Regions from separate parts of the Homo sapiens genome. Here regions 2, 3, 4 and 5 are each linked to region 1. Evidence: promoter capture Hi-C in 16 types of primary human blood cells and fetal thymus (Javierre and others, 2016). All regions are on one chromosome and are shown on one strand. The core of a region is centred on a gene start or on the middle of the fragment in contact, and the rest is flanking DNA. Distances in the headings are between cores, read along the strand shown. Region 1 holds the start of UGGT1 (UDP-glucose glycoprotein glucosyltransferase 1). Region 2 has its middle 12 kb from the start of SFT2D3. Region 3 overlaps WDR33 (WD repeat domain 33). Region 4 overlaps WDR33 (WD repeat domain 33). Region 5 overlaps WDR33 (WD repeat domain 33).

Region 1 (5,656 bases), core at 1,454-3,953:
AACCATGTCTACTTCGTTTACCAAAGTGCACAGCATGATGCCTGGCACTCAGAAGACAGTCCATGAATATGCTGCATGCATCTCCACTTTAAAAATAAGTGAAAGCTCGAAGATGCTGAGTACCTTGCCTAACTAATAAATAGCAGTGCTTAGAACCCACACCTTCCTGCTTTTAAAGTTCTACAATACCGTGCTCTCTTCTCTGGTTCTCTGGCTTTACAAAAGGGTAAAAAGCCATACTCTGTGCAGACTCAGACTGAGAAAAGTGCTTGTGAGAACCAAGGCAAGTCCAAGGATTTTCAGTGGCCACAGTTCTTGGGAGACAGGTGGCTGAGAAAGGAATAGTTTTAACCTGAAACCAAGGGAGGAGGCCTGAAGCTGGGACCGAAGCAATCCAACCAACCAATCTGACAGATCCACACTTACGCTGGCTTTGGGGACCGATGGGAGCTCCTCAAGAGCAGGGTGTTTTGTCTATCATGGTCTCCACGCCTAGCATTATGCCTGAAACATAGAAGGCTCTCAAAATGAAATAAACACAGGCCTCATTCATTAAGGCATGAATGGAAACAACAGGAAAGGAGTGTGGCACCAAGAGTGAAGATGCTATAAAATGCCTAGGACTGCAAGATAGGTAAAATGAAAATCCTATGAACCTGTGGCCTGCCTCGAGATCCCCCTACACTGTTTTCAAAAAGGAGAGAGAGTACGTGTTCTTGGGGAGAGATGCAGCACCATTTGAGATGAAAAAAGGAGGAAAGCTATACATTAAAAAAGAGCTTTGCCACTCTGACCCCACATTCTTAACTCTACAGGTAAAACCAGAGGAAAAGACTGTCCAGAGAAGCAGACGTAAGAATCTCACTGAAGTGGTCTCTGCTTTGAGTATGTCTTCATTTTATAGGATCCCTTATCATTCTGACCCTAGGGGTTCTTAAATGTTGCTTATAAAGACAAACAGTCTGAGATAATGGCCAACAGAATGTGCCATGTGGCTTTGCATGATAAGCATTATACTTGCGGCATGATGAATAAACAGAAAACACTCTTTAACAAGTTCTAGGCCCAACTATCAACAACCATCCGTAGGAGGCTGAGGTAGGAGGACCACCTGAGCCCAGGAGGTGGAGGCTGCAGCTAGCAAGATCATGTCACTATTCTCTAACCTGGGCAACAGAGCAAGACTCTGCCTCACCAACAAAAAATAAAAAAATAAATTAAAACACTATCTCTTGCACCATTGCACTCCAGCCTGGGTAACAAGAGTGAAACTCCATCTCAAAAAAAAAAAAAAAAAGAAAGAAAGAAAGAAAATTATCACATCATCTTGTATTGTTACAGGGAAACTTAGATAAAAAAAGAAAATGCTCACAGACAGCTGCAGGAAAGTTCTAAGCAAATTTTCTTCTTACTTTCATATATTCCCCTGAAGTTCAATGTGCATTATAAATGTGCTATGCTACTGTACAAAGTATTATGGTCACTTCCTTTAATAAGTTTCATGTGGCCAGGAGTTCAAGATCAGACTGGTAGGTAACAAGACCTCATCTCTACAAAATAAATAAATAAATAAATAAATAAGAATTTTTTTAAAATAAGCTTCAGCTAAGTTTATCAAAAGCAAGTCAAGTGTTGCTAAATTCGACTGGCTTAAAAAAAAAAAAAGCAAAGTGAAAAGGCTACAATTATTCCAAGTTTTGTGGTGCTGTTAAATAGCTATTTAAAATGTCTTCAAACGCCTGCAAGTGTAAGATTCTTGAAGGAAAGAGGGCACTTTACACTAAAATTGGCTGGCAAGTACATCAATGAATGTTTCCAAAACAGTTAGTGTAGCACAATAAGGCAAAAGACCCCAGGACTTCAAACGAACAAAATTGCTCCTTCTCAAATCTGGCAAGAAATGCAAAACAACTGCAGATTCTGGCCAAGGAACAAAAACAGTTCACATCTATAAGTTATTGGCGACGGACGCAGATCTCATTCTGGCAGGTCCCACGCTAAAAGTGAAACCATATCATCCAATTTCCAGCCAACAGATCACAGTGTTAAAAGAAAACAGTAACCAATACGCATCAACCCGAATTCATTTTAGGAAAAATTGAAATCTATTTTAAAAAGCACGTCGTTCTGCAATCAGGGTCCTGCAAAGTGCTGCTTCTCAACTCACTGAGGATCAAGCTTGGTCTAAATCCATGGTAGGATACCTCCCCCATTTCCTTCTGCACTTGGCACAAGGATCTAAAGCTCTTCAAAGAAGGTTCAAGACCGCTGAACAGAGCCCGCCGCCACCCCCGCGGAAGCGATACCTTGCCAAGAAGACCACTGAGGGCAACTCGGGGCGCTCGCGAATAGGGGAAGGGATAGGACACCAGAGGGTAAACTGAGTCACGGTAGAGGCGGAAGCTCAATGTGACAGGGGCACAGGGTCGCCTTGTGCCCCAAACCCTCTCTTTGTCCACGAGGCCTCCTCACGCCACCCCTGGGTACCTGTCACCGGCAGCGCACCCGCGGCACACGCACCGCTCGCGTCTCCCTTGCAGCCCATGCCCGGGCCGTGGTCAGTCCGCCACAGTGCCAGAGACAACGCCAGGGCAGGGCGGGGCGAGGCGGCAGCGGCAGTGCAGGCTGCGCCAGTGAGAGGCCGACACGCGCCTTTCCCGCGGCTCGACTCAACACCCAGCCTCGCAAAGCAATTGCCCAGCTGCCGGCCGCCCTTTTACTTCCGCTTCCTGCAGGCGAACGCTGGAGGACTTCCGGATACCGAGTCGAGACCTAGCAGCCCAGAGCGTCGCGCGGTCGCCCTCTCATCTCCGAGGGTTGGGGAGGGGGGAGTCCTGCCTCTCTCCTCACTTCCGCCTTTCAGGGTGGCGGGTAGGCTGCCGGTCTTCAAGGTCTTGGGAAGGTTCGTTGGGCCAACAGCTGAGACCCGAAAGCTTCAACAGTCAGTCGGTGAAATCCAGTTTGGACTCTGGGACTTACTCCCTTAAACCTTTGTTAAAAGCTTACTCCCTTTAGCCTTTCGGTGGCACAGTAAGGACAATTGTCTTAATGTTTCTGAGCATCTTAGACTTTATACTAAACCCTAAAATTTTGATAGCTACCTTCCAGGAGGCATGATGAAAGGAAGACTTTTTAAATTTTATGAGCCGCTTGAGCTTTCTTATTCGGACAGCGGCAGCTTAGTCTACAGGGACTACTTTGTCCTTTTAGTATTTTTTTTTTAACTAATATAAACCAGTTTAAAATTGTTTTGGAATAGGTAGCATTTAACCCACCCAAAAATGAATACCTCTTTGGAGGGTATATTTTTAAGTATATTAAGTCAAAGTGAATGAAAAGCCAAAAATATTTTTTTGGAGTTGGAGTCTCGCTCTGTCTCCCAGGCTGGAATGCAGTGGCGCGATCTCGGCTCACTGCAACCTCCGCGCCCCCGCCCGCGCCCCCCACCCCCCAACCCCCCGACCCGCATTCAAGCGATTCTCCCACCTCAGCCTCCCCAGTAGCTGGGATTACAGGCGTGCGCCACCGCGCCTGGCTAATTTTTGTATTTTTAGTAGAGACAGGGTTTCACCCTGTTGGCCAGGCTGGTCTCGAACTGCTGACCTCAGATGATCCACCCGCCTCGGCCTCCCAAGTGCTGGGATTACAGGCGTGACCCACTGCGCCCGGCCCAAAATAATTTTAATAAATAAACATGAGCCAACATGATGAAGGGGAGGAAGGAGAGGAGGATGAAGGAGATGACTAATGGAACACTGATGGAGGCCGGGCGCGGTGGCTCACGCTGAGGATGGAGGCTGAGGCAGGAGAATGGCGTGAACCCGGGAGGCGGAGGTTGCTTGCAGTGAGCAGAGATCGCATCACTGCACTCCAGCCTGGGCGAGAGAGGGAGACTCCATCTCAAAAAAAAAAAAAACAGCAACAACAACAGCAAAAAAACACTGATGGATTCCAACCTTCCTTTTTTTACATTTTCTCCAGTCCCTGGGAGCAAGTTGCAGTTTTTTTGTTTTTTTGTTTTTTGTTTTTTCTCTCTTGTGCTCAGTCGCCCTGTTCTTGAGGTTTCTTTTCTCTACACTATAGTTCTCAACTTATTTTGGGGGAAATAACTTCAGCAGAATACAATGGGAAAAGAGTCTCTACCCCTTTCTGTTCGAAATTCATTTTTATCCCTTCCTGTCTGAGCAAAAACTGTATAGAATCAACATCACCCCAGCTCTGTGGGAAAAAAGAAAAACCTGCTCCCTTCGCCCTGCTGGAAGCTGGAGGGCTCTAGGCCCATGTGTAGCAGAGCATTCAATTCTAGCTTTCTTCCTGCTTTCTCTGTATATTGGGCTCGGAGAGTACACTGGGTCTCTATGTGAATATGGACAGTTAGCATTTACCAACATCTTTCTGTCTACTTTCTCTTGTTTAAAAAAAGAAAAAAACTTTAAAAAATGGGATTCTAGAAGTCAGCAAAGGGTGGGTCTGAGATGTTTGGGTGGGTTAAGCGGACATTTTGACAACATGGCTTCTCCTTTGGCATGTTTAATTGCGATGTTTGACACACATCCTTGCAGTTTAAGATGACGCTTTTAAAATAAATTCTCTCCTAATGATGACTTGAGCCCTGCCACTCAGTGGGAGAATCAGCAGAACCTCTAGGATCTTATTTGGAATTGACATTCTCTATTGTAATTTTGTTCCTGTTTATTTTTAAATTTTGTTTCACTGGAAAGGAAAGATCATGCTCAGTTTTAAATGTTAAAAGTGTACAAGTTGCTTTGTTACAATAAAACTAAATGTGTACACACACCTACGAAAAGAAAAAAACATGAGCATTTTAAAATTTATTTCACAAGGGAGCTGTTGTGTTAGCTTTCCATAGTGTATTTTCTAGCCCTCTTTAAATCACATCAGCTAATGCTTCAATAAAAAGGAAATTGTTAATTCACCTCATTACAAAGTTGATTATATACTTTTTCTTGGCCTTATCTTGATCTTCTGCTATGTGATCCATGAACAAAACCAAAGTTTGCTTAGTTTTAAAATACAGCTAAGTGGTAGCACAGAGCTTCTAGGAAAGTTGGATTTCACCTTTTCTAAACCTTTCTCTGAAAAGTGCTACCTTATTTGAATAAAAACAGATTTTAAAAAATTTTTTAAACTTTTTATTTAGAAATAATTATAAATTCACAAGAAGTTGCAAAGATAGTACACAGAGGTACTTTGTACCCTTAAGCCCATTCCCCCAATGATTACATTTCAAATATCTATATTAAAGTATGAAAACCAGAAATTGACTTGGTACATTGTGTGGGGGAGACAGGTATATTTCCATCATTTTGTGTATGTCTGTACATTTGTGTAACCACTGCCAAAATGAAGACCCACAACTATTGCAGCACCACAAAGATCTCCCTTGTGCTACCCCTTTATGAAGTCAGAACTACTTTCCTACCCCCAAAACCCCTAGCCTGTGGCAACCATCATTTTGATCATTAAATATAAAATTTTTCAATTCTAGAATGTTATATGAATAGTATCACATAGTATGTAGCTTTTTTATTTATTTATTCACTCAGCATAACCACCTGTGGAGCCATACAAGTTGTAGATATCAGTAGTTTGTTCCTTTTTATTACTGAGTAATATTCCATGGTACAAACATACA
Region 2 (5,656 bases), core at 1,587-4,086, 400 kb after region 1:
GACCTTGTCTTTACAAAAAAATATAATTAGCCAGGTGTGGTGATACACACCTGTAGCCCTAGCTACTTGGTAGGCTGAGGTGGAAGGATTGCTTGAGTCCAGGAATTCAAGACTGCAGTGAGCTATGATTGCACCACTGCACTCTAGCCTGAGCAATAGAATGAAACCCTGTCTCTTAAAAAAAAAAAAAAAACTAAATGAAGATTAAATGACAATGTCTCATTGGAGAGTATCAATAAAGGAGTAGAAATTATAAAAATGAACCAAATAAAAAATTCTGGAGATGAAAAGTACAATAAACAAAATGAAAAGGCCAGGAGTGGTGGCTCACATCTGTAATCCTGGCACTCTGGGAGGCTAAGGCAGGAGGATTGCTTGAGCCCAGAAGTTCGAGAACAGCCTGGGCAACATAGTGAGACCTCACCTCTAAAACAAAACAAAACAAAAACAAAATGAAAAATTCACTGGATAGGATAAACAGTAGATTTGAGTTGGCAGAGAAAAGAATCAGTGAACTTGACACATCAGTAGAAATAATGCAATCTGAAAAATAGAGAAAAATATGAAGAAAAATGAGCAGAGCATCAGAGCAATATGGGACACCACTAAGTGCACCAGCATATTGATATGGTTTAGCTTTGTGTCCCCACCCAACTCTTATATCAAATTGTAATCCACGATGTTGGAAGTGGGGCCTGGTGGGAAGTGATTGGATCATGGGGGTGGTTTCCAATGATTTAGCATCCCCCTTGGTTGTGATAGTGAGTGTGTTTTTGTGAGATCTTGTCATTTAAAAGTGTGTAGCACCTCCCCCCTCCCTGTTTCTTCCTCCTGCACTGGCCATGTAAGACATGCCTGTTCCCCATTTGCACTCTGCCATGATTGTAAGTTTTCTGAGGCCTCCCCAGAAGCTGAGCAGATGCTGCCATGCTTCCTGTACAGCCTGCAGGACCATGAGCCAATTAAACCTCTCTTCTTTATAAATTACCCAGTCTCTGGAATTTCTTTATAGCTATGCAAGAATGGACTAATATAGAAAATTGGTACTGAGGAGTGGGACATTGCTATAAAAATACCTGAAAATGTGGAAGTGACTTTGGAACTGGGTAATGAGCAGAGGTTGGAAGAGTTTGGAGGGCTCAGAAGAAGACAGGAAGATGAGGGGAAATTTGGAACTCCCTACGGACTGGTTAAATGGTTGTGACCAAAATGCTGATAGTAATATGGATAGTGAAGGCCAGGGTGAGGAGGTCTCAGATGGAAATAAGGAACTTAATGGGAACTGGAGCAAAGATAACCTTTGTTACATATTCGCAACAGAACCTGGTGGTGTTGTGCCCCTGCCCTAGGGATCTGTGGCACTCTGAACTTGAGAGTGATGATTTAGGGTATCTGGTGGAAGAAATTTTTAAGCTGCAAAGTGTTTACGGATTGGCCTGGCTGCTTCTAACAACCTACGCTCATATGTGTGAGCAAAGAAATGACCTGAACCTGGAACTTATATTTAAAAGGGAAGCAGAGTGTAAAAGTTTGGAAAATTTGTAGCCTGGCCATGTGGTAGAAAAGAAAAGCTAATTTTCGGGGGAGGAATTCAAGCAGGCTGCAGAAATTTGCATAAGTAAAGAGGAGCCCAAGTGCTAATAGCCAAGACAATGGGGAAAAGGTCTAGAAGGCATTTCAGAGACCTTCGTGGCAGCCCCTCCCAGCACAGGCCTGGATGCTTCAGAGGACTGAATGGTTTTCTAGGTCAGGCCCAGGGCCCTGCTGCCCTGCACAGCCTTGAGACTCTACTCCCTGCATCCCAGCTGCTCCAGCTCCAGCTGGCTGAAAGGGGCCCTGGCCACTGTTTCAGAGGGTGCAAGCCATTAAACTTGGCAACTTTCATGTGGTGTTAAGCCTGCAGGTGCACAGAATGCAAGAGTTTAGGCTTGGGAGCCTCTGCCTAAATTTCAGAGGATGTATGGAAATGCCTGGATGTTCAGGCAGAAACCTGCTGCAGGGGCAAAGCCCTCATACAGAACCTCTACTAAGGCAGTGTGGAAATGTGGGGTTGGAGCCCCCACACAGACTCCCCACTGGGGGACTACCTAGTGGAGCTGTGAGATGAGGACCTCTGTCTTCCAGACCTCAGAATGGTAGATCCACTGGCTGCTTGCATCCTGCACCTGGAAAAGCCACAGGCACTCAAGACCATCCCTTGAGAGCAGCCATGTGGGCTGAACCCTGCAAAGCCACAGGGGGAGAGCTTCCCAAGGCCTTGGGAGCCCAGCTCTCACACTAGTGTCCCCTGGATGTGGGGCATGGTGTCAAATGAGATTATTTTGGACCTTTAAGATTGAACGACTACCCTGCTGGGTTTTGAACTTGCATGGGGCCTGAAGCCCCTTTCTTTTGGCTGATTTCTCCCTTTTGGAATGGGAGTATTTAACCAATGACTGTACCCCCATTGGAAGTAACTAACTTGTTTTTGATTTTACAGGCTCATAGGTGGAAGGAACTTGCCTTGTCTCAGATGAGATTTTGGACTTTTGAGTTAATGCTGGAATAAGTTAACACTTTGTGAGACTGCATGATTATATTTTGAAATATCAGAAGGACATGAGATTTGGGAGGGGCCGGCGGCAAAATGATATGGTTTGTGTCCCCACCCAAATCTCGTGTTAAATTATAATTCCCAGTGTTAGAGGTGGGGCCTGGTGGGAGGTGACTGGATCATGGGGGCAGTTTCCAGTGGTTTAGCACCATCCTCCTTAGTCATAATAGTGAGTTCTCATAAAATCTGGTCATTTACAAGTCTGGGCCAGGCACAGTGACTCACACCTGTAATCCCAGCACTTTGGGGGGCTAAGGGGGGGCAGATCACCTGAGGCCAGGAGTTCAAGACCAGCCTGGCCAACATGGTGAAACCCTGTCTTTACTAAAAACACAAAAATTAGTTGAGTATGGTGGTGGGTGCCTGTAATCCCAGCTACTTGGAAGGCTGAGGCAGGAGAATTACTTGAACCTGGGAGGCAGAGGTTGCAGTGAGCAGAGATTGCACCACTGCACTCCAGCCTAGGCCAGAGTGAGACTCCAGCTCAAAAAAAAAAAAAAAAGTAGCACCTCCCTGCTCCTTCTCTTTTCCTTCTGCTCTGGCCATGTAAGATGTGCCTGTTTCTCCTTCACCTTCTGCCATGAGTATAAGTTTCCTAAGGCCTCCCCAGAAGCCAAGCAGATGCTGCCACACTTCCTGTACAGCCTGCAGAACTGTGAGCCAATTAAATCTCCTTTCTTTATAAATTACCCAGTCTCAGGTATTTCTTTATAGCAATGTAAAAATGGACTAATACACATAAGAATAATGGAGAGAAGTGAGAGAAAGGGACATAAAAATTATTAGAAGGCACAATGGCTGAAAATTTCCCCAAATTATTTGCTTATTTATTTAAAATTTATTAATATTATCATGTTTATAGAAAGAGTCTTGCTCTGTCACCCAGCCTGGAAGGCAGTGGCACAAGCATAGCTCACTCTAACTTTGACTCCCTGGGCTCAAGCATTCTTCCTGCCTCAACCTCCCAAGTAGCTAGGACTACAGGCATGCACCCCAATGCTCAGCTAATTTTCAAGTTTTTTGTAAAGACAGGGTCTTGCTGTATTTCCTAGGCTGGTCTTGAACTCCTAGCCTCAAATGATCATCCCACTTCAGCCTCCTAAAGTCCTGAGCTTACTCATCACCTAAAGGCAAGAGCCACTGTGCCTGACCAATTTCCCCAACTTTGATGAAAAACATTATTCTAAACATCTGAGAAACAATGAATTTCAAGTAGGATGAACACAAAGGCATTCACACTCAGACATATTATAGTCAAATTTTGAAAGCCAAAGATAAAGATAAAATCTTAAATGCAGCAAAAGGAATACAATTCATTGTGTACCAGTAGTACAATAATATTGACAAATGATGTCTCATCAGAAGCAATGGGGGCTAGAAAGCCGTGGTATGACATGTTCAAAGTGCTTAACAGTAAAAACAAAACAACAACAAAAAACCTGTTAACCAATAATTCCATACCCAACAAAACTATCTTTCAACAATAATGGCAAAATAAAAAGCACTCCAAAATAAATAAAATCTGACTGAATTTATTGCTACCAGTCCTGAGTAACAAGAAATATTTAAGGTTTTTCAGATAGAAAGCAAGTGACACCAGAAACTAATTTGAATCCACATGAAAAACAAAAGTGTTGGTAAAAGTAGATAATTACAATATAAAGTATAATTGCATATTTCTTCTTCTCCTCTTAACTGATCTAAAAAGTAATTGCATAAGAAAATATGCATGTAACTTTTTATGGGCTATGCACATATAGGAATGTAATATGTGTCAACATTTTGTCAAAATGTTATTTAACAGTAACAGCACAAAGGAGATGGATGAAAAATTACAGCCAACATCTCTTATGAATATACACAAAAATCCTCAACTAATTACTAGCAGCCTAATCCAGCAACATATACAAAGGATTATATACCACATTGAAGTGGGATTTATCCCAGGAATGCAAGGTTGGTATAATATATTAACATCAATCACTGTAATACACTACATTAATACACTGAAGGACAAAACTCATATGGACATTTCAACAGACATAGAAAAAGCATTTGACAAAATTCACCACTATTTTTTTTTTTTTTGAGATGGAGTCTCACTCTGTCATCCAGGCTGGAGTGCAGTGGCACGATCTTGGCTCACTGCAACCTCTGCCTCCCAGGTTCAAGCGATCATCATGCTTTAGCCTCCCGAGTAGCTGGGACTACAAGCATGCGCCACCATGCCCAGCTAATTTTTGTATTTTTAGTAGAGATGGGGTTTCACCATGTTGGCCAGGCTGGTCTCAAACTCTTGACCTTGTGATCTGCCTGCCTTGGCCACCCAAAGTGCTGAGATTATAGACATGAGCCACCATGCCTGGCCCACCACTCTTTCATGATAAAACAAACAAATGAAAACAAGAACAGAAGAGGACTTCTACCAACAATGGAAGAGAGCTTCCTCCTCAACACTGTAAAGGGGTTTATGAAAAACCCACAGCTAAAATCATATATATATATTTTGAGACAAAGTCTCACTCTGTAGCCCAGGCTTGGAGTGCAGTGTTGCTATCCTGGCTCACTGCAGCCTTGACTTCCTGGGCCCAAGTGATCCTCCCCCCTCAGCCTCCGAAGTAGCTGGGACTACAGACAGGCGCATGCCACCATGCTTTGCTAATTTTTTTTTTTTTTTAATTTTTGTAGAGACAGGATCTCCTTATGTTGCCTATGCTGGTCTTGAACTCCCGGACTCAAGTAATCCTTCTGCCTCGGCTTCCGAAAGTGCTGAGATTACAGGTGTGAGTCACCATGTGTGTCCTAAAATCATGTTTAATGATGAAAGACTGTATGCTTTCAGCCTATGATCAGGAAGATGACAAGGATGTCTGCTCTTTCCACTTCTGGTTTCTAGCCAGGGACAATAGGCAAGAAAAAGAAAAGGCATCAAGACTGGAAGAAATGAAGTAACACTACCCTCTATTTGCAGATGACATGGTCTTGTGTATAGAATAGTCTAAGGAATTTCCAAGAAAGCTCTGGAATTAACAAGTACAGTAGGATTTTAGGATACAAGATTAA
Region 3 (5,656 bases), core at 1,331-3,830, 380 kb after region 1:
GGAAGCAATTGTTTTGGGGGAGGGGAGATAGGGAGGTTAAAAATAAAGACGTAAGGGCTCCCAGTGTTTTTAAGACCCTCTCTTAATGATATCCAAGCATTACCTTTGACATGGCTTTTTATGACTAGAAGAGCTTTACATCTGCGTAATGTTCACTGACTTATTGAATCTCTGCATCTTGTGCAAAATGTTACATTTTACCTTGTCTTTTTTTTTTTTTTTTTTTGAGAGGGAATCTTGCTTTGTCGCTCAGGCTGGAGTGCAGTGGCATGATCTCGGCTCACTGCAGCCTCCACCTCCTGGGTTCAAGCGATTCTTGTGCTTCAGCCTCCCGAGTAGCTGGGATTACAGGCACGCGCCACCACGCCCAGCTAATTTTTGTATTTTTAGTAAAGATGGGGTTTAGCCATGTTGGCCAGGCTGGTCTCGAACTCCTGGCCTCAAGTGATCTGCCTGCCTCGGCCTCCCAAAGTGCTGGGATTACAGGTGTGAGCCACTGTGCCCGGCCATCCTGTCTTGATTTGTATTGTGTTTCATCTGTCAGTGCAGACCCATAGCCTAGGCTGGTGTGTGAGAGTGTAAAGGTATTGTGATTATATAGGAGAAAGTTCTTGTTCTTAGAAGAAATGGACTGAAGGATTTAGGGGTAAAGCTCGTGTTGGCAACTGATTTTCAAATGGTTTAGAAAACATGTTTGTGAGTAGCTGGACGGAGAAGATAAAGCACGTGTGGCAAAATATTAAGAAGGGATTGATCTGGGTGGAGGATCTGGGATGTTCATTGTACTGTTCTTTCAGCTTTACTGTAAGTTTGAAAATCTTCCAAGTAGAAGATTAGGATAAAGGCAATGGAATGGAAACCTGAGGAAGAGCAGAGGCCTGGCCTGGGAGGAGGCCATGCAGCTCATGCAGAGGGGCCCTGCAGGGTGGCGCCACCGCCTCTCAGTGAGCGCTGCCAGAAGGTCACTTTCTCTTCTTTCGCACAGACCTCCTGGTACCCTCTCTGCCTCAGCAATACTCCCAGTCAGTGTAGTCTCCTGGCTCCAAAATTCCTGAGAGAAGGGGAAGCTGTTCACTAAGCAGGGCTCCAGACTGCCAGCTAGCCAGTGGATCGCTGCCTGTAAACCAGATGCTGACCTGTGTGCCCATCAGCTGTGGACTCGGGCCATGAGTGCCACTCGTGGTCATGGAGGCCTGCCCCTGGGTGGAGGCTGTGGGCTGGGGCAGATGGCAGAGCCCCTACCTACAGACAGGTCCAGTATGGTTGGCAGACACGATCTGTGCCCCCATTTTTCTGATTATATGTCATAAATGTTCATCATACAAATGTAGATGATAATGATAAGTATTTGTGAGGCAGTGATACAGAACCTGGGCCGAGGGTCAAGACTGGCTGAGTTCAGATCACCAGCACTTACTCTGTGTCCTTGAATAAATGATGTCAGCAATCTGGGCCTCAGTGTTCTCATCAGTGGAACTGCTGATAATACCAGCTTCATATGGTGGCTGTGAAAATGAAATGAATGAAATGAAGTAATACTTGTATATACCTAAAAGCCTAAAAGAAGCTTAAAGTAACTCCACACTCTGGTGTGTTTCCTTCTGGTCTGTTTTTGCCTCTGATAGTATTAATAGGATTATATAATGTATCCTTTCAAAAATATATAGTTTTATTTTGTTTTCCTCCCAATTAACATTGTATCATGCTTTCTCATATCATATGCTTCTTTGAAACATGAACTTAGAGTGGCAAGGTGTTCTCTGAGATGGACATTCTGCTGTTTTCTCTTTACAGTTTCAGAAGAGGAGCCCCGCCGAGGCATGAGGGCCGTGCTCCCCCCAGAGGAAGGGATGGTTTTCCTGGTCCTGAAGACTTTGGTCCAGAGGAGAATTTTGATGCTTCTGAGGAAGCGGCCCGAGGACGAGATCTCAGAGGTCGAGGTCGGGGTACCCCACGAGGTGAGCGAGTTACTAAAGACACCTGGTCTGGAAGGATAGGGTGCAGAATACACTGGTTGTGAATACACCAGGAACAGTCTGAGTGCAGCATTGTTTGCTCTGTTGTGTAGGAGGAAGGAAGGGTTTACTTCCCACTCCTGACGAGTTCCCTCGCTTTGAAGGAGGGCGGAAGCCAGATTCCTGGGATGGAAACAGAGAGCCTGGTAAGGAAAAGAACCGCTTGTTGGGTAACTCTAGACTGCAGTTCACAAAGTGAGTTCTGAGGGCCCTCTCTGGGGTGCACCGGGTCTCCTCTTTCCAGCTCATGTCTCCCGGGGGGCTGGGCTGTCTCCTGTCCTGCAGCCGCAGCACTTGATCTCAGCAGGTGGAATGCAGAGCAGAGGAATCCGCCAGACATTACAGGGATCTATCTGAGTATAAAACGGGACTGCTCTTTCCACTAAATTGCTTTTGGAGAATAAAGTTAAGTGAATTAAAATTTCCCCAGTCTCAATTGCTAATATGGTAAATATTCGCAGTTACAACTCTCATTAACAAAATCTCTTAGGAGTCCTCAGTAATTTGAGACTGTAAAGACGTCTTGATACTACAATGCCTGAGAACGAGTTCTCTGGATCTTACCTGCCCCTCTTACATGAGGAGGCACCCTGATGTCTGGGTGGCTTACCCTTTGGCCTCTGGCGGGCATTCAGCATGAGTGAACGGTGGCTCTCGAGTTGCTCCTTACTCTCACAGTGTCATTCCCATCTACTTCTGGTCACACTGTGCTTTCCTGTAAGGAGATTTGTTTCTTGTTTCAGGGCCAGGTCATGAACATTTTCGTGATACTCCCCGCCCTGATCATCCCCCTCACGACGGTCATTCCCCAGCCAGCAGAGAACGCTCCTCTTCTCTCCAAGGCATGGACATGGCATCCCTACCTCCCCGAAAGCGCCCCTGGCATGATGGCCCAGGCACTTCTGAGCACAGAGAGATGGAGGCCCCAGGAGGCCCTTCTGAAGACCGAGGAGGCAAAGGTAAGAGCAGGCCAGTGGTTATGGTTCCAGGAGATGCAGGGGCCGATGGAGGCCTTGCCTGTATCTGCTGCACATGCCCTTGCAGCCTGGGCTGTGCAGAGGCACATGCTCCTAAATGTGGTGCCAGTGCCACACGAGCTGTCATCTGGTGGACTGCAACTCAGCCCTGCACAGGACTCCACTTGCCTCCGGGAATCCCTGTTCACTTGAGGTTTTCACTTCAGCCCTCTGCCAAGATGCCCCAGCACTCTCTGCTCGGCTTGCTGTCTGGGAGCCCTGCTCTCCTTGGCAGTCTGCCCTCCACAAGGCTGCTTGGAACCCTCAAGGGCTCTCAGTGGGAGGGGAAGAGTTGTCCTCTCCTGGGTGGTCTGTTGGTTTTTTTAGCCTGGGTCTAGAGGAACACTGCTTGTGCTCAAAGTCACAGAGACTTTGGGAAACATGGTCTATGGGCAGTGTTTCCAGGGGCACAGTAGATTATCTCCTCAACTGGGAACTGTGGAGCTTTATGTTATAGGCAGCACTAACTTTAGCCAGGAGTAGTTGCCTCTGAAGGCTGACTATACAACTCTGGTTGCAAGGCAGCGGGGGAGGTGCATAGGTGGTGTGGCTCGGAAGCTTCTGGGAAGGCTGCTCCCCGCATGCCCCAGCTTGTGCTCTGCTCCTGAAGTTGGCCTGTCTGTATGGACGGTCCTTCCAGTACAGAGTTCTGCCATTTGGTCTTTTTGGGTTTTTTTCTGTCGCCCAGGCTGGAGTGCAGTGGTGTGATCTTGGCTTACTGCAAGCAACCCCCGCCTCCCAGGTTCAAGTGATTCTTGTGCCTCAGTCTCCCCAGTAGCTGGAACTACAGGTGTGCGCCACCATGCTTTTGTGTTTTTAGAGAGATGGGCTTTTGCCATGTTGGCTAGGCTGGTCTCGAACTCCTGGCCTCAAGTGATCCACCTGCCTTGGCCTCTCATGAGCCACCATGCCTGGCCTGCCATTTGATCTTGATAGTTGTTTGTCTCAACAAAACCCTCAGAAATTACCTTATGTATCATCAATAGATCACCCTGCATAAACACATTGTACTACTAGCCAGTGTGCTGTGACCTTGGCTGACTTTCTTGGGCACTCAGCACACCATTATTAGGTCCCTCTGGTCAAGGACATGCAGTTAGCATGGGAATGATGTAGTAGCTGACACTCTGCCCAGGTGCCTCAGGTGGGTTGAAGCTGCACTTTCTAAGAAAAGAAGCCAAGATTGTTCCTTTGGCTGGCTCTCCTAACTTCATCTCAGCTAGATTCATATTCTATTACAAAATATGAGACAGCGGAGAGTTTGCAGTCATCTTCTGAGAGTGCATTATGGGAGATGTGACCAAATCCTATCATTTCCTGAGGAAAAAAATCTTACAAGATAGAATTTTTTTTCCTTTTCCTTTCTTTTTTTTCTTTTTTTTTTTTTTTTAAATATATTCTCAAGCTGCAACAGAATGAAAGAATTTTAATAGTACCTAAACATTTGTGCATACTAGTCTGAAGCAGGTTAAGCTGTGCCTCGGTGATAGAACCTGAAAGCCAGTGTTTTGTGGGGTTTTTGGGTTTTTGTGCTTTTCTTTTGTTTTTTCAAGAAATACTTTATTTTACTAATTATGAAAAGGAAGCCAAAAGTGCCACATGTCACGGGACAGTCCCAGTGAACGCTTGTCCTAGTTGGAGCACTTTTTATTAACATTAGCAGTGTGTACTTCCAAAGTTAAGTCAGTATATTCAAACCTTCCCTCAATATACCCTGGTGGCTGGGAGCAGGCAGATACACTTCCCATGGCCTGGGACATGGCCCAGTGTGGCCCGGGTCTCCCTGAAGGTGCTCCTTGCTCATCTCTTGGCTTCCTGTCGTCTGTCACACAGCCCTGGGGGCATGGATCTGGCTGATGCTGAGGCCCATGGCCATGAGCCAGGAAGGGGGAGGCAGGGTCAGGAAAGGGTAGAGGCACACCTCTCAGTACGCTGAATACCACTGCCAGTCTCCCTGGCACCCACCAGAACTGGTCCATTGTCATCAGAGAGTAAAGTTTGTACTGGGAGTTACTGACAAACAGTTGCTAATACAAAAAGTCCCATGTGAAATTTTCTTTGTTTCAGGCCGAGGGGGCCCAGGACCTGCTCAGAGAGTGCCCAAATCTGGGCGTTCCAGCTCCTTAGACGGAGAGCACCACGATGGATACCACAGAGATGAACCTTTTGGGGGCCCTCCAGGCAGTGGCACCCCTTCTCGAGGGGGCCGGAGTGGCAGTAACTGGGGTAGAGGGAGTAACATGAACTCTGGCCCGCCGAGGCGAGGAGCTTCACGGGGTGGTGGAAGGGGTCGGTAGAAGCTGGAACTGAGTACCCTGAGGCCTCTCTGGACAGTATGTAAGAACTTCTTGTGGACTCACCAAGAGAAACAAAAGGAAGCCTGCACCATTGTAGCCCTGAACTCTTTTCTGGGCACCTGAATCCCAGGAACCCTCAATGAGGTCTTCAAGATGAAGAGACTGCTGCCAGCTACCAGCCTGGCTGGCCCTGTCCTGTCCACCCTCATTGCCCCAACTCCCATGTTGTTTTGTGAAGATAAAAGCTGGGATCTTTTTCTTTTTTTTAAGTCTCACAAGACATGGGGCATCTCCACAAATTTAAGTTCCTGTCCATTTGGAAATTTGT
Region 4 (5,656 bases), core at 1,313-3,812, 350 kb after region 1:
AACTGATGTATATGGGGATCTCGCAACCTGGCTTCGTTAGCAGTGCCATTCTCTAACCAATCAAGCCGAAGACCAAATGCAACACTGAGATGCATTTTTTTCATCAGTCATGCATGGTGAAAGGTATATTCTATGAATTGCATGGAAGTAAGAATTGGAGACAGTACTTTTTGGTAGGTTTACAATATCTTGAAAAAATATGAAGTGCAGGATGAAGGTGTATTCACACCTACACAATATGCCATATGGAAGCCTGAGATCTGTGGTGGAAGAGTACTGGGGAATGTAAGGGTGGAAAGGTAAGGAAAGAATTGGGTGGGATTAAGAGTTGTTTTTCTTGAGAACTTCTGCCTTTTACAAAGGTAATAAACATTCATAAAAGGTTCACTTAGAAGTAAAAAGTCAACGTCTTTCCCCTCTTATTTCCCAATTTCACATCCAGAGGTAAGCACTGTTCTGTTGAAGCTTGGTGTATATCTTTTTAGAATTCCTATACATATACAAAAAGATGCTTTTAAAAATCACTACATGAAAGGAGATTATACTACGTATATTCTTTTGCTATTTGCTTTTCTCACTATACTGTATATTAAGGTCATTTTTCTGCATCATTACTACCCCAGTCTTTTTGACTGCATGTATCTACTGTAATTTATTTAACTATTCCTCACTGATAGGCCTTTGGGATTTGCAAGAAGTTTTTGCCAAGACACAGTTGTGCACTAAGCTTCCTAATACCTTTATATTTGTGTTACTTACGTAAATTTTCCATTAGGTTAGACTCCTAAGAATAAACTCAATGGAGCAAAGGGTATGAACATTTAAACTTTTGGAAGATGAGTTGTCTTCACTGTCCAGGAAGTCATCAACGATGAAGTTTAAGAAAGTTCTTGTCATCTAGCCAAACTGAAAATAACACAGGATTAACATTTTAGGAAATTGTCACCACCTAAATATTTAACCTTATTTTTAAAAATCACTAATAATAAGCACACATGGTAAAAAGTCTTTCCTCCAGCCCCATAGAGGGATGGAATATGAAATTTAAAAATCTGCCAATCCTTTACCTCTCCCCAGAGGTAGTTTCTTAAAACTAATTGTTTCTATTCTTGTGGTCATCAGAATTTCACATAATATGTATTTTGGTATATCTGTCTGACGTAGTGCCTCTTTCTGTCATCAAAGGTGAGGAATTGAGTGTTATTCACACCACCAACCATGCCTCCTACCTCCTCGTTTTTGTCATAATGAATTGTAGTTTCAGTGGTTTTCTTTATAGCTTTAAATGTTCTTAAACCTTTATTTTTAAGGGGACTGCCAACTTTAGCCAATATTCCTTGGCTCACCACTAGGTTACAGAAGGAAATCTGTGCCTCTCAATGTGTTTCCACTTCTGCCGTTTGTCTTCCTTTACTTCTGAATTGTCAAGGATTTTAAGCCAATTTTATTCTGTTCTTGAATTATGGCTACTTTTGTTTTCTTCATATTTTAAAATTCTAAACAATGAGAACAAAAAAGATAGCATTTCTGCTATGAATGATACTATTGATAACAGAACCAAGCAGTATAATGGGGCCTTGCAGAAAGAGTGATAATCTTGTGGTAGTTAATGAAAAGTTGTTCTGCTTGGACAGTGTCAAGATCAAGTATGCTGCTTTTGTATTAAGTCTGTCATGCTGTCAACTGTTGAAAATAATGCCATAGTTTAATTCACTTTTGTCTTGCAATTTATTATTACCTTTCCTGTTTTTAAAAATCAATGTCACTAAAACCTTTATCATAGCAAATTTTTAGGTTTTTAATTTTTCAATTTGAGTAAATGGTTTTTGTTTTTGAAGGCATTCTTTTAAGTCCACTCTTTTTTTATTTTTTCCCAGTTCAGTTGAAAATCCTCAAACATTTTTCTCAGAAATAGCGCTTAGGAGGTAAATCAAAATTATTGAGTCTGGAAAGGTATTTAATTACCATCATACTTGACTCATAGTTTGGGGTTTGAAATCCTTTGCCTTCTGAATTTTTACGTCCTTCATTATCTTCCATCAGTTTTACTGATAACTCAAATATAATCCTGAGTCTCATTATTTTATATATATCTTGACTTTCCTCTCTGAATGTTTTCTGAATGATCTCTTTTCTCTGAGGGGTGTTTTTTTTTGTTTTTTTTTTTTTAACTGTGAGTATAGGTATACATATTTTAAACTTCATCTTTCTTGGCATACTGTCATCTGCAGTCTTATCTTTTTTCCATTTAAAGGATTTTTCTTTCTTTGATGATTGTTTCCATTGTCTTTGCTTGTCTTACGGAATTCTTAGGAGATGACTGTTGGGCTGTTTGGAGCTGTCTATCTAGTATTATTTTTTCTTACATGTTTTGTGTTCCTGCCCTTTCTCTAAGTATTGGGAGATTTCTGTTTGTCTCCTGGAATACTGATTTACTTTTCAATCATGCCCAGTCTGGTTTTCAGCCCTTCTGGTGATTTTTTCTTCCCTTTTTTTTTTTTTTTTTTGAGACAGGGTCTCTGTCTCCTGGGCTGGAGTGCAGCGGTGCAATCATGGCTCACTGTAGGCATGACCTCCTGGGCTGAAGCGATCCTCCCACCTCTGTTTCCTTGGTAGCTGGAACTACAGGTGTGAGCCACCATGCATAGCTAATTTTATTTTTATTTTTATTTAGTTTTAATTTTTTGTTGCCTAGTCTGTTCTCAAACTCCTGAGCTCAAGCAATCCACATACCTTGGCCTCCCAAGGTCCTGGGATTACAGACTTGAGCCACTGTGCCCAGCCGAAATTTTTATTTTTATTTATTTTTATTTTTTGAGATGGAGTTTCGCTCTTGTTGCCCAGGCTGGAGTGCAATGGCACGATCTCAGCTCACTGCAACCTCTGCCTCCCAAGTTCATCCTGGGTTCAAGTGTTTCTCCTGCCTCAGCCTCTGGAGTGGCTGGGATTACAGACACCCACCACCACACCTGGCTAATTTTTTGTATTTTTAGTAGAGACAGAGTTTCATTATGTTGGCCAGGCTGATCTTGAACTCCTGACTTCAGGTGATCCACCCGCCTCGGCCTCCCAAAGTGCTGGGATTACAGGTGTGAGCCACCGTGCCCAGCCGGAAAGTGTTATTTTTATCAACTGCATGTTTACTTTTCAAGAATTTCTAGTGGTTCTCTAATCTTTTCATTTTTCAAGGAAGCCTGTTTTGTAGTTGGTTTGTTTTTAAGGAATATACCCCTTAAAACCTTTAACATAGTAATTGGGGTGTTTGTGTGGATGTCTGGTTTGATCTGTTGTTCCTGTTTGTTTTCCCTAAAGTCATATAATCTGTATTTTTCTCTTTCCTGGTACTTGCTTTTTCTCAAATAACGCAGTGACCCTTGGTTGTCCAGAGATTTGAATGGTGGTTTGTATTGGTTAGTATAAGTAGCTATCTTGCATTTTTTTGCAGTTAAGTTCGCTTACCTACAAGGGTCCTCTCCTGGATGGAAGATCTCACTGTGGATTCGTGTGTCTGTGTGTGTGCTTGTACATGTGTACACACGTGCATGTTTGTGTGTGTTTAATGAAGTGAGTGGAGAAGCACAGGCCACTGCCACATTTATCAAGTAAGTGGGTTGTGGTTTGTACTCTGAGGTGGAGTGCTTAAGTTTATTCCACTCTTAAGTGGAACTGCCATCTTTCTCTCCTCCCTCCCTTCTCTTTTCTCTTTTTCTCCTCCTCTCCCATTCTCTCTTTGCCCTCCACTTCTTTCCATTTTCAGTGTCATCCGTGGCATTTCTGCAGACTTTGTGCTGCTTTACTCTTCAGCCTCAAATCCTGCTCTAGGGTTTCTTCCCAGACTGAAATGTGCTTTTTGTAACAAATGTGCTTTGTATAATTTGCTTTGTCTGACTGAGAGCATCTGTTCTACAGAAACAGGAAGTCAGGAGGGACAACCTGGACAAGTCTCCCTATAATTACCCTCATTACTTCATCACAGCCTTTGTCACTGAGCCTTTGCCACAACCTTTGTCACTGACAACTACAGTCTATGTATTTTGGGTTTCATTTTTCTCTACTCTGGTTTATTCATAGGTAGGGTCCATCTGTTTTTAGAGAATGGCCACTTTTTGGTTGAAGTTTTTTCAAAATTTCCTAAAATTTGTAGCCAACATATGTCAGTCTTGCGAAATAAGTTCATCCTCTGCAAACCTTTGAAAGTAATTTAGGAAGAGGCTTGCATATTTGTTTTTACTTAGTATTAAATCATGATTTTATTCCAAAGCACAATTCCCTTTTCACATTAGTGGCGTTGAAATAATCTTCCTTACCTCTTTCCTGATATTCTCCCAAGTTCCATCATTTTTCCATTTCTTAAGACATCTTTCATAGTTAAATTTTAATCGTATACTTGAAGCTTAAGGTAATCCATGGCATTGGGGGATTTAGAGATGAGTAATCAATTAAAATAATTGAAAGATTGTGTTGAACCCAGCTCTTTTCTTTTTTAGAGACAGGATCTCACTCTCACCCAGGCTGGAAGTGTGGTGGTGTGATCTCAGCTCACTGCATCCTTGACCTCCCGGGCTCAAGCCCACCTCAGCCACTGCCCATGTCCCCCTGGGCACCATGACACCCAGCGTGTGTGTATGTGTGCGTGTGTGTAGAGAAATACAAATCCGTGTGTGTGTGTGTGTGTGTGTGTGTAGAGAAATACAAATCCCTCCCAAAGTGCTGGGATTATAGGCGTGTGCCAACGCTGGTGGCCCAGCATTTTTCCTGTAGATTTTTTGTCCCCCTAGAAATGAGTTAACATTCTTTAACAGTAGAGAAAATGTAGACGGAACCATCAGACATTCACACCACAAGTAAAAAGGAAGTGATTGGTATCATCTTCTCAGTGTTGGAGGTGGCATTGTAGTCTAGTGGAATCAGTACTTACATTAAAAGTATTACCTTAAGTACTCAGGACTTAAATGCTGTTTTTCTTAGTAGTATCTGTCTTTCTTAAAAAAAAACATAATCAACATAGTGAATGTAATGGTGGTCTCTCATTTTGTGTTTTCTAGTTCTGAGAGGTAAATGGCATTACATCAAGTGTATTACTTGGGGTGAATGTTCATAATCAGAATTCAGTGTTATTTTTTCTGGAGTCATTTGAAAACTGAAATTTAGCAGTCTTACAAAAGTTGCACTTTGGGAACATGCTCTCACATCGAGCCATTTTCTGCTTTCCCATACTCTGTTCATAGTAGTAACAGCTCTTGCTGGATAACTAAGTCTATATGGAAATAGCTGTCCCCATGGTGAACTTTTTCAGGGCAGAGATTGGATCACAATGAAAGCTTTTATTCATTGAATGTTCAAAATATATGCTAGGCATGATGCTAAGTGCTTCATGTATTTAATTCCTGAAACAAGCCAATAATTGGGTAATAATCTCCATTTTGTACATGTAAATATTAAGGCTAGGCAAGGGTTAAGTAGATTACTTAAGGACGTAACTAGTAAGTGACATCTGAGATTTAAACACAACCAGTTTACTGGAAATTTTTTACTATTAGCCATTATGTAGCATATGAGCACTGAACCTATTTGAATTACATGTAACATACCCTTTTCTTGATTCCAAATGTAACTGATTTGACACTGCTGCTTTTATTGGACAAAGCTACTTTCA
Region 5 (5,656 bases), core at 990-3,489, 310 kb after region 1:
GAGCATTGATAGTGATATGGTCTGCAGATCTTATTTAGATTTCCTCCAGTTTTACTGTACTTATTTGTGTGTATCTATAGTTTTCTGCAATCTTACTATATGTTTATGTTCCTGTGTTCGCCACCATAATCAAGATATTAACAGTTTATCACTACAAGAGTTACCTTTTTTATAACCACACCCATCCACCCTCTCCTACCCCCCTAACTCTTGGCAGTCATTTCTATTGTTTTGGCATTTTAAGAATGTCATATAAATGAAGCGTACAATATGCAATCTCTTGGATATGTTCATGTGTCTATTACCACAGTCAAGATAATAGAATCTCGAACTTTAAAAAGCTATTAATTGGGCCGGGCATGGTGGCTCACACCTATAATCCCAGCACTTCGGGAGGCTGCGGCAGGTGGATCACTTGAGGTCAGGAGTTTGAGACCAGCCTGGCCAACATGGTGAAATCCCGTCTCTATTAGAGATACGAAAAAAATTAGCCGGGTGTGGTGGGGCACGCTTGTAGTCCCAGCTACTTGGGAGGCTGAGGTGGGAGAATTGCTTGAACCTGTGAGATGAAGGTTGTAGTGAGCTGAGATGGTGCCACTGCACTCCAGCCTGGGTAACAGAGTGAGACTGTCTCTCAAAAAGTAAAAAATAAAAAGCTATTAATAAATTAATTATTTTGAGATAGGGTCTCATTCTGCTGCCCAGGCTGGAGTGCAGTGGTGTGATCATGGCTCACTGCAGTCTCAAACTCCTGGGCTCAAGGGATCCTCCTGCTTCAGCCTTTTGAGTAGACGGGACTGGAGGTGAAAGTTTACTTTTGAAGGAGGAGGGTCTCACTGTGTTGGCTGGTCTCCAAATCCTGGCCTCAAGTGATCCTCCCACCTTGGCCACCCAAAATGCTGGGGTTACAGTCATGAGCCTCTGTGCCTGGCCAAAACCTACTTATTTAAACAGCTTCATTGATTATTCTTTAACAGATTGAATGGTCTCCATGTAATTTCTCCTGATTTTTCAGGATTCATATTAATTAAAGTTGGACAATGAAGAGAAAGAGCATGTTGATCATTTTGTTACTGGTCTAGCCTGCCGCTCATGAAGATCCCCTCAAAGTTCAATGACAGATTGGGTATCAAATTTCTTTTAGAGTAGATTGATTATCTTAGAACCTAGTGGACTATACATAAATAATCTAAAACAGGTTTCCAGGCTGAGGTTTTGACCCTGGGGTCAGGAGTGTTAATGGAGGTGGGAATCTTAAAACTTTTTATTATTTTTACACTTTGGGAGGCCGAGGTGGGCGGATCACGAGGTCAGGAGATCGAGACCATCCTGGCTAACACGGTGAAACCCCGTCTCTACTAAAAGTACAAAAAATTAGCTGGGCGTGGTGGCGGGGGCCTGTATTCCCAGCTACTCGAGAGGCTGAGGCAGGAGAATGGCGTGAACCCGGGAGGCGGAGCTTGCAGTGAGCCGAGATCGCACCACTGCACTCTAGCCTGGGCGACAGAGCGAGACTCCGTCTCAAAAAAAAAAAAAAAATCAAAAAAACCTTTTTATTATTTTTAAAAGTCCTATATGAATTGCTAGCTAGTTAATGCATCAATAATTTGCTTTTGGTTAGAATTCTGTTATCTCAGTTTGGGAAAACAAGCTTTCTTGTTCTGATTGGAAGCTCTGATTAGTGGCTGACATGGTAGGAATTGTTGGATTTGATAATTGGATCAAATTCTGGTACCATAGCTACTGTGATCAGCCACAGTATTCATACTGGACAGATGCTATATGTGATCTTCTTTGGCTATGGATATGCAGTGGCAGCAGACATTAGGTGATAATAAACAGAAAATACACAGGAAGGGAATACCTCACAGTGTTACTAACAGCAAGCCCTTGGCTTTCAATTGACAGATTCCTAGGAAGAAAATACTTTGTAAATATTGTGACCCTGTATGCATACACACAAACACAATAGAAACAGTAGTTGCACAAAAACAGTTCTTTCAAATGCGCAGTTCTATCATATGTTCTATTTTTTTTAACTTTTTTTTTGAAACGGAGTCTCGCCCTGTTGCCCAGGCTAGAGTGCAGTGTCGTGATCTTGGCTCCCTGCAACCTCTGCCTCTGAGTTTCAAGCTATTCTCCTGCCCCAGCCTCCCAAGTAGCTGGGACTACAGGTGTGCGCCACCACACCTAGCTAATTTTTGTATGTAGTAGAGATGGGGTTTCACCATATTAGCCAGGCTCGTCTCGAACTCCTGACCTCAAGTGATCCATCTGCCTTGGCCTCCCAAAGTGCTAGGATTACAGGCATGAGCCACCACCCTGGCCCTATTTTTTTTTTTTTTAATTATTAAAATAATGCTGCTTGTCAGCCACATTGATTTCAGGAACCATCAATGGGATGTGATTTCTGGTTTAAAGAAAAAGCACCGCTTTAGGCTCATTCATGATATTTCATGTCAGCATTTTTTTGATGCCAGAGCCTCGCTCTACCCCCAGGAATCTTAGTTTAAAACTCTTTTTACTCATTTGTATGAAGCATTCAGTAAATTCATTTTGTATTGAAGCTGAGGAATTAGTTGAGTGCTAGCTAGGTCATTTTCCTATGTGTTTTAGTTGGAGATCTATTATGGTAAAATAATTCAAATGGTAGTCAGAAATTTGGTTGGTGAAAGATTATTTTGAATTATGTTTGGTTGGGGAAAAATTATGCTGGCCTTGGTATGCTGAGTGAATTAGAGAGCTTTATTTACTTTTTTTTCTCAAGTGTCTCTCCCCTGACACCCCCTGCCCTTGCCTCCCTCACTTTACTCAGAATTTAAGCTTCTTAAGGCTGATTGGTGCTGTAAGTTTCCTGTGCTATATCCCTTGTAATAGTGCCTCTCACACAGCGTAGTAGTGTCTCAGTGTAGTAGTAACTTCTCACATTGTTCTTTTGAGCTCTTCTGTACTGAGAAACGGTCAGACTCTTGAGAACAGAATGTGTGTGTGTGTGTGTGTTCATTGTCTGGCAGGTAGTCAGGGCTCATCAGTTTTTTTGTTTTTGTTTGTTTCTTTTTTCTTTTTTTTTTTTTTCTTGAGATGGAGTCTTGCTCTGTTGCCCAGGCTAGAGTTCAGTGGCATGATCTTGGCTCATTGCAGTCTTTGCTTCTTGGGGTCAAGCGATTCTCCTGCCTCAGTCCCCTGAGTAGCTGGGATTACAGGCGTCAGCCACCACGCCCAGCTAATTTTTGTATTTTTAGTAGAGATGGGGTTTTGCCATGTTGGCCAGGCTGGTCTCGAACTCCTGACCTCAGGTGATCCCACCCACCTCGGCCTCCCAAAGTGCTGGGATTACAGGCGTGAGCCACTGCACCCAGCCAATAATTTTTTAAAATTTTTTTGCAGAGATGGGGGTCTTGCTATTCTGCCTAGGCTTGTCTCCAACTCCTGGCCTCAAGAGATCCTCCTGCCTTGGCCTCTCAAAGTTTTGGGATTACAAGCATGAGCCACCACACCCGGCTCATTTTTAACTTTTATCTTCAGCTATAATTTCAGTATCATCACATGACTAAGATTATACAAGAAGTTATCTTGTGAGCATTTGGGACAAGAAGCAGAATTGACCAGGTGCAGTGGCTTATGCCTATAATCCCACCACTTTGAGAGGCTGAGGTGGGAGGATCGCTTGAGCTCAGGAGTTCTGGACCAGCCTGGGCAACAAAGCAAGATCTGTCTCTACAAAAAATGAAAAAAATTAGCTGAGCCCAGGTGGCACACATGTGTAGTCCCACATACTTGGGAGGCTGAGACAGGAGAATCACTTGAGCTGCAGTGAGCTGTGGTAGTGCCACTGTATTCCATCCTGAGCAACACAGCAAGACCCTGTCTCAAAAAAGCAGAATTATAACGTTGGTATAGACTTGTGCATACAAACATTGACACACTAAGTCTGAGTGTTCCATTCTGTTCAATAGTATAGTCACCACATTGTTGAAAGATACAAATTTAATGCAAAATAATATTTTTGAGGCATGGAACTCATTTTACAGGTTGAGAAAATAATGGAGAAATTGACTGGCCTTCCTGGTTTTCTTGAGCAGTTGAAAGCCTAAGGCTAAGGATGCGATGCAAACTTTTGTGTACTCAGGATCTTTATATATGCTAAAAATAGAGAGGGGGCCAGGCACCACAAAGTCTGAAAACTACTGTTCTGCGAAATTAGGAGTGATATTTAGTGAATCAGAATTGTGCGCTGTACCTGAGGCAGTGTATGCATGTAAAGTAGGCTCTTGATAAAACTGTGCTGATTGCTTGAAACATTGAAGGTTTATGTATAGGAGAAAGGCATGATGAATTCAGTGTTTCACACAGATTCTTGTCCTTAGCAATTTGGTTGTATTGTTAGTGTATACTGAATTCAACAATAGGCAAATTATTTGTCTTTTCTCTACCTCAGTTCCTCTCTCTTGCACCCTCCTTTCCCAAACTCTTTGTCTCTCCTCCCTCTCCACCCTGGATGTAAGATGAGTATGTTTTGGGGACTAAGTACTTTAAATTGTGTTGTTCTGTTAGCATACCTCAAGTCAATACTGCAGTGAGTACAAATCACATTAATTACCTTTATAAAGGACAAAGCTCTGCTTTCTCTGTGTTTGGTCATAAATCTAGATCTTTGGAGTATAATCCCAAGTAAAGCGTAGAGGATAGTTGTAATGACTTGTTTGAGGATTGGTTCTTTCTGTCGTGGTCAATAACTTTTCAGCCTCACATGTCAAGTTTTCTGCTCTCAGAGAAAGCTATTGTATCATTTTTGCTCAAATATTTTTTCTTTTTTTGAGATGGGGTCTCACTGTGACACCCAGGCTGGAGTGCAGTGGTGCAACATTGGTTCACTGCAGCCTTGACCTCCCAGGCTGCCATCTCAGCCTCCTGAGTAGCTGGGACTATAGGTGTGCACCACCAGGCCCGGCTAATTTTTGTGTTTTTTGTAGAAACAGGGTCTTACTGGGTGGTCTTGAACTCCTGGGCTCAAGCAGTCCACCTGTATCGGCCTCCCAAAGTGCTAGGATTACAGTTGTGATTGCTCAATGTTTCTGTCAACCTCTGTTGAAGGAGAGTCAGGAGGTATTTTGCCTTGACTGCCACTCTCTTAGCTAGGGCTGCCATAACAAAATACCATAGACTGGGTGCGGGGGTGGATTAAACAGTAGAAATGTATCTTCTCAGTTCTGGAGGCTGAAAGTCTGAGATCAGGATGTGAGCAGGGCTGGTTCCTGGAGAGCCTCTCCTCTTGGCTTCTAGATGGCTGTCTTCTCTCTCTGTCCTCACATGGTCATTCTTTTGTCTGTGTTGTCTGTGTCCTAATCTTCATTTAAAAGGATACCAGTTAGATTGGATTAGGGCCCTAAATCTAAATAGAATCACATTGTGAGGTACTGGAGGTTAGGACTTACATTTGTGAATTTTTGAGGGGACACATTTCAGCCCCTAACAGCGGCCAAGACTGTTGTGATTTTGGCCAAGTAACTTTATAGTTTGCAGGATGTGAAGCTGAAGTGTATAAGGTATAGATGGAGCCTGGTCACTGTATTGTGAAGAGATTTTTTGTTTTAATTTTATTTTAGGCTGGATGTTTGTTTCAGATATAATTGTACTTTTTTTTTTCTCGTTTTCT

What was found. The method cuts DNA at HindIII sites, captures the fragments that hold promoters and counts their contacts. A CHiCAGO score of 5 or more calls a contact.
Region 2: a fragment that was not itself captured here is called in contact with the fragment with the promoter of UGGT1 in region 1 in 2 of 17 cell types (total CD4 T cells and naive CD4 T cells); the score reaches 6.6 in total CD4 T cells.
Region 3: a contact is called between a fragment that was not itself captured here and the fragment with the promoter of UGGT1 in region 1, in 1 of 17 cell types (activated CD4 T cells). The highest score is 5.4, in activated CD4 T cells.
Region 4: a contact is called between a fragment that was not itself captured here and the fragment with the promoter of UGGT1 in region 1, in 1 of 17 cell types (total CD8 T cells). The highest score is 6.4, in total CD8 T cells.
Region 5: a fragment that was not itself captured here is called in contact with the fragment with the promoter of UGGT1 in region 1 in 1 of 17 cell types (total CD8 T cells); the score reaches 5.2 in total CD8 T cells.

The regions. Positions count from the first base shown.
Region 1 is chr2:128,088,247-128,093,902 of GRCh38, reverse strand. UGGT1 (UDP-glucose glycoprotein glucosyltransferase 1) reads right to left here and starts at 2,703. Exons shown (of 41, transcript NM_020120.4): 1 at 2,488-2,703. The coding sequence starts at 2,545. RefSeq lists an enhancer at 2,632-2,941. The HindIII fragment of the contact is 755 bases long and covers 2,181-2,935 here.
Region 2 is chr2:127,686,979-127,692,634 of GRCh38, reverse strand. No RefSeq gene overlaps it. Among named protein-coding and RNA genes, the nearest start is that of SFT2D3, 12 kb to the left of the region's middle. The HindIII fragment of the contact is 6,533 bases long and covers 1-5,656 here.
Region 3 is chr2:127,705,995-127,711,650 of GRCh38, reverse strand. WDR33 (WD repeat domain 33) reads left to right here. Exons shown (of 22, transcript NM_018383.5): 19 at 1,795-1,958; 20 at 2,069-2,161; 21 at 2,759-2,974; 22 at 5,099-5,656. The coding sequence ends at 5,328. Among named protein-coding and RNA genes, the nearest start is that of SFT2D3, 7.3 kb to the right of the region's middle. The HindIII fragment of the contact is 2,022 bases long and covers 1,570-3,591 here.
Region 4 is chr2:127,739,374-127,745,029 of GRCh38, reverse strand. The region is part of intron 7 of WDR33 (WD repeat domain 33); the gene reads left to right. Among named protein-coding and RNA genes, the nearest start is that of SFT2D3, 41 kb to the right of the region's middle. The HindIII fragment of the contact is 3,666 bases long and covers 730-4,395 here.
Region 5 is chr2:127,775,859-127,781,514 of GRCh38, reverse strand. All of the region lies in intron 1 of WDR33 (WD repeat domain 33), which reads left to right. Among named protein-coding and RNA genes, the nearest start is that of WDR33, 32 kb to the left of the region's middle. RefSeq lists silencers at 4,234-4,434, 5,074-5,274. The HindIII fragment of the contact is 1,172 bases long and covers 1,654-2,825 here.